Regions from separate parts of the Homo sapiens genome. Here region 1 is linked to region 2. Evidence: promoter capture Hi-C in 16 types of primary human blood cells and fetal thymus (Javierre and others, 2016). All regions are on one chromosome and are shown on one strand. Each heading gives the region's core, a stretch centred on a gene start or on the middle of the fragment in contact. The rest is flanking DNA. Distances are from core to core; before and after follow the strand shown. Region 1 overlaps ZNF24TR (ZNF24 transcription regulator). Region 2 holds the start of GALNT1 (polypeptide N-acetylgalactosaminyltransferase 1).

What was found. The method cuts DNA at HindIII sites, captures the fragments that hold promoters and counts their contacts. A CHiCAGO score of 5 or more calls a contact.
Region 1: a contact is called between a fragment that was not itself captured here and the fragment with the promoter of GALNT1 in region 2, in 2 of 17 cell types (M1 macrophages and M0 macrophages). The highest score is 5.5, in M1 macrophages.

What each region holds. Positions count from the first base shown.
Region 1 is chr18:35,463,166-35,466,002 of GRCh38, reverse strand. The region is part of intron 1 of ZNF24TR (ZNF24 transcription regulator); the gene reads left to right. Among named protein-coding and RNA genes, the nearest start is that of ZNF24TR, 2.6 kb to the left of the region's middle. RefSeq lists an enhancer at 2,778-2,837. The HindIII fragment of the contact is 1,160 bases long and covers 960-2,119 here.
Region 2 is chr18:35,580,336-35,583,157 of GRCh38, reverse strand. GALNT1 (polypeptide N-acetylgalactosaminyltransferase 1) reads right to left here and starts at 1,418. Exons shown (of 12, transcript NM_020474.4): 1 at 1,296-1,418. RefSeq lists a silencer at 1,677-2,376. The HindIII fragment of the contact is 12,017 bases long and covers 1-2,822 here.

The DNA.
Region 1 (2,837 bases), core at 290-2,789, 120 kb after region 2:
GTCAGTTCTGGTATTGGTCTGCAGGATCCAAAAGAAAAACTCAGACACTTTAAGAGAAAAACAATTAGCTGGACTTGAGAAATCCTCTTAAGACCAAACTCAGGTCCAGTCTGCTCTGACTGGAGTTTGACTCTTTCTTAATCTGGTATTAGGCATGGTTTAAAACGACCTGTAACGTTGAAAATATGCTCTTCAGAGCCAGAAGGCAGTCCCTGTAGGTGAGGGGGACCCATTTTCCCCCATCTCCCAAGTTAAAGCATGGATCTGTCCAAATTTTAAATGTGTTTCATGATTGATTTGGCACCTGGTGGAGGGCTAAACATGTTTGCAGTAAGAAATCTCTTAATTTCTGAATCCATAGTCATTGGAAAAAGATACCAGATATTTGTTACTCTTTCCAGTGACTGTAAATTGGGAGAGTTTAACTTAGTAAAAATAAAGGGTAACGAAAGAAATCAATGGACTATGGAACTTGACCCCATTATCAAATAGGACAGATATCCTGGGGAGAGATTACAAATTATGCCCTCTTACAAATGCATGAAACAATAGTGTCATTTAAAATAATATTCTATCTGATGGGAATGTGTGGGCCTTATTTGGATCCTCATTCAAACAACAACAAAAAAAACTTTAAAATTTTGAGACATTTGGGAATCTGATATATTTTGATATTTGATAATATTTTGGAATTCTCACAAATAGTTGTGATTATGCTATTGTAATGTTAAAATAATTCATATTTTTAGAGACACCTACTGAAATATTTATGGATGGAATGATATGACATCTGGGATTTGCTTCAGAATGATATGAGAGAGAGGAAGTGGATGAGAATCGTGTTGAAATAAGATTGGCCATGAGTCAGTTATAGTTGAAGCTGAGTGATAAGTCCATGGGGGTTCTTTATACTATTCTGCCTTTGGTATATGTTTGCATTTCTTCATAATAAAAAAGCTTTCAAAAAGAATGAGATATTTTTATTACTAAAAATTGTGATGAAATCTTACCCAAAGTTAGTGCTTTGCATTAGCTTGCACTGGCTTACAGATGCTGAAAGTTTGAGAAATGCTGCCTAAATGGTATGCGGTCTTGAATAGAGGAAGTACCCAATTCCTAAAACATCTAACAAAGAATATAGAAGAGAAGAACCATGGACAGGTAAAGTTGTCCTGTAAATGTTCTTAATAGAGGTCTTCATTGTGTGTTCAGTTGTCCCGGAGGGCTGTGTATTTAAGAGTATTTTCTCTGTAGAGGTTAGGAAGCCTGAGAGTGAGAAGACCAAAGACTTCAGCTTTGAGGTTCTAGTGGGGTATAAATCTTAATAGAGAGGGCTGCGGATGCATTGAATGACTGACTATGGCTTGAATAAATACCTGTTGTTATAATTCCTGATAGAATCTGCAGTATTCATTTATGTAAATAGAGAAGGAAATTAGGTTATCAAAGAACTATGCACCTGCACAAATTGTTTGGCTTCAAGGAATTGCTTTTGCTGAATTTCAACAGGGTTTATGCTTTTGTGCCCATATTAAGGAATTGGATTGAAAGAGGTCAGGAGATATGGACCTACAAAAATGCCTATTACATTTGTCTCAGAAATGTCCCACAGAACCCCACTCCCCCACCCCAGTCCTGTAGGGTGAGCTTTTTCATTCAGGACCCAGACATGGAGCCTGATAGCCTGGGTTTGAATCTCATTTCTGCATCTCACTAACTGTAGTCTTGGGCACATTACGAACTTACTCTTGAATTCTTAGTTTCCTTATCTGTAAAATGAGTGTTATAATAATGTCCACCCCACGAGATTGTCAGGATCAAATAAGAAAATGTCAGAGAAACACTTAACTCGGGACTGGGATCACCCACATCCCCTCTGGTCTGTGCATTAGAAAGGCAGAGTTTTCCTGACTTGTATGTTCTGCTTGGTTATATTTCTCATTTCCTTGGCTCCTAGGACTCTTGGCTCATGCCCGCTTGTAGTAACTGAATAACATCATATGATAGATGTTTCCATGTGCTCATCTTATTGCTGGCTCTATCAACTATTTTCCTTGCCTTCTTCATTGCTTATTTTGACCATTTCTTTTCGTCCTTTATTCTCTTATTCTAATAAGCTTGCTCAACTTTTTTATGAGACAAGGGAAGGAGTAAATAACTAGCTAAAGAAGCAATGATCTGTGATTGAGGCCGGGGGAGAGAGAGGGGTTGAGGGATTTGTGGGGTGAATAGCAGAGGACTTTAATGGAGGAACTCCTCTAGAATAATGAGGGACAGAAAGAGCCAGTAGAAACCACCCACTGGACCTCTTAAAAATCACTAATGTTTTATGCCTTCTTTGGTATTCACCATGTATACTACCATGTTTCCTATGTAATAGCAAACCTTAAAACCCTAAAAAAACAAAAAAGGGGGGCTAGTTGTTTACTTGTTTTGATGACCAGCTTGAGCAGGAAAAGGAGGGATCCTTCTTCCTGGATCCACAGAACTGGATCCAGCCTGGTTTTCTTCCATAACTCAGTGGCCTCTGTCTACTTGTACTTCTGTTCCAACTGCCGTCAAAGCCTTTCCTGAGAAGAGTCAGTGTTTTCCTGGCCTACAGGATGCTGACTACTGACAGGTGCACAGTGTGCACCAAACACACCACTCGCCTCCCCTGGGGTCAGGAAGATGAGTCACATCCATCAGCCCTGGTGGCTTGGAGCCTTGGATCTTTCTAGTATGAATCCAGGAGGGCATAGCCTGGGGTTCTGCAGTGTGGAATACTGCAAGGGCTTTTATCAGGGAGCCAGCCAAGGCCTTGGTGACTGATATCTCCCCTAATAACATCTGGAAAG
Region 2 (2,822 bases), core at 169-2,668:
TCCTCAAAGGATCATGTAAAATGTCAATTCCAATAGGGCAAGGACATTGTGTCTCCCTTATTCACCATGTACCCAGAACTTAAAACTGTGCCTCATAGACAGATCGCATTCAGTAAATATTTACTGACACAACAAATGTATGTATAATTTAGACCAGGGCTGTTCAACTGTAGCAAAGAACCACATTTAGCTATGGAACACTTGAAATGTGGCTACTGTGACCGAGGAGCTGAATTTTTAAAATTTAATTTTAATAGTCACATGTGGTTAGTGGCTCCCACGCTGGACAGTCCAGGTCTGGACACAGATGTGATGTAAAGAGGACTGGACTAACAAGGTCTAGGTTTGAATCCCAACTCTGCTGCTCAGATTGTGACCTGAAAAGTTGCAACTTCTTAGGGCCTTCACTATTTCATCTGTGAAATGACAAGACCTCCTAACTCTCAGCGTTCTTGACACGATTATAAAGCAATGTATTAAACATAAGATATGATCAAAGTGACATTCTCTGCCCTCCAGAAACAGTTCAGAAAGACTACTTTGCCTATTGCCCACTTGACCAAAAAAATGCCAAGTGAGTTTGGTAGACGGGTTGGTTAGCTCAGTGGCTTTGAGAATGAGGACAAGGTCACAAATCTGGGGAGTAAGGGAACCTCATCTAGCAAGGCTGACCAGATAAGAGAAGCAATGACAATGCAAATCATCCCAATTCCTGGTAAATGCTTAAATGGGCAACGTATTGATTATGGATGAGTAAATGACATCTCATTCATTCATTCTTCCAGGAAAAGCGGAAAAGCTACTACATTACCTAAAGCCCGCTACTTCCCAACCACAAACATTTGCTAATTTAGGTCCGGGTCCTCCTCGGGGGCAGCGGGCCGGGAAGCCCCCTCCCCCGCTGCCGGCGTGTCTTCCCCTCCCCCGTGGCGCCGCGAGGGTCAGGCTGGCACCGCGGTTGCAAGTACCACACGGCCGAACCCAGAAGCCATATTTAGCTTTATTTTTGTCAATAAAACAAACTTCCGTCTTCTAAAGAAAAACGGTTCTAACTCAATGTCAAACTAGGACGGAAACTCGCTGCTCGCCAAAGCTGCCAACCAGAGACGCCGCGTGTCCAACGGCACCGGGGTCCCAGACCCGAACCCGCGCCGAGCGTGCCCGCGCCCCGGCCCCAGGCAGCGCCGGCCACAAAGGGACCGGGGACGCGGCCGCGGCGGGGCCTCTTTCTCCACCTCCGACCCGCGCGCAGCGCTGCGGCTCCGGGACTGCCCAGCCGCGGGCGATACACTCACCTCGCTAGGCGCGCGGCGGCGGCGGCGGCAGGCGTCCTCCGGGCCGGCCGCGGCGGTCGCGGCCGGTCCCGCGGCCAGCGCGCTACTCTCGGGCCGCCGTCCGCCGCGCGCTCCTCGGCCACTGCCGGCGGCTCCCCCGGCGGGCGGGCGGGTCCGGCCGGGCCCCGCTCCGCCGCGCCCGCCCCCGCCTCCGCGCCCGGCTCGGGTCGGCGGCTACTCCGGGCGCCCCGCTCGCGGGCTCGGGCGGCGCTACTCCGGGCCGCCCCGCATGCGCGCCGCCTGCCCGCTCACTTGGGGCTCGTCGCGCGGCGGGCGCCGCAGGGCGCCCGCAGGCGCTCGGGCGCGGTCCTCCCTGCGCTGCGTGCTCGGCGGCAGCGGCGGCGGCGGCCCGTGCGGCTGCGCGGGGGAGGCGGGGGCGCCGGCGCTCACCCGGATGCGCGCCCCCTCCGCTGCGGCGAGCCCACCGCGGGGCCGCGACGCTCCCCTCGGGCTCGGGACTCCGGGGTCGGGCGCGGCGCCCCTCCCGGACCGACCGCCCAGTCCCGGCCCCCGCTCACACGGCTACGGGCAGGGCCGGGCCAGGCCGAGAGGTGCCCCCGACCCTGGGTCGGGACAAAGAGGCTGCCGCAGCAAGTTAAAGACAACTCGGGCTGTTGCGCGTCGAGCAGGTCACGGGGTGGGAGGAGATGGAGGAGCCCTCACAGCGGATCGGCTCCCGGGCCGAGCGCGGGGCCGCCCCAACCCGGTCGGCTGCCTGAGGCGGCCGCGAGCGCGGGAGCTGGAGCGCTGTCAGCCGCGCTGAGCCTGCGCCTGGCGACCGCGATGCAGGAGGCCCGGGACTGAGGGAGGACGGCGAGAGCGGAGGCCCGCGACCCGCACCGCCGGGGCAGGCACCCGGGTCTCGGGGGCAGCAACGCCGGGGCCCTTGCAGAACGGGGACTGTTTGGGGAAGTGGCTCCCGCACAGTGCCCGGAGAGGGGCCCTCCCTCTGTGCCCCCTTGGGAAACACTGCTTGGTACAATTCCAATACCCAGCTGTACCCTGCCCTGAAGATAGAAGACAAAACCCTGGCTCTGTCACTCACGCGAGGCATAACCAACCATTCTTTTAATAAATTAATTTTCTACTTAAATAATTCAGAGGTTTGTGTCTTATTGCTTGCCAACCAAGAGCTGCAATAAGAGATTACTTAATATTTAAGTGGTCCCACTTTTAAATTTATATTACCTCTCACATAACCAAAAGGCTGTCCGAAAAAAAAAAAAAAAAACCTGAAGATTATCTCTGGAATTTTAGTATCCTGTTTTTGCTTGTCTACATCTTCCAAGTATTCTAAAATAAAAGTTAAAAGTTACTATTTTAAAAGTACTTATATAATATTTTGAAACAAAGTCAATCATGACTAGCCTGTTACTGTTCCACAAGGAAACTTCACTTTGGAATAAAGTTGTCATCGTTAAAAAATACTCTTATCTTGGGAGAAAAGATTGGCAAATCATATATCTGTTAAAGGACTTGTAGCCAGAA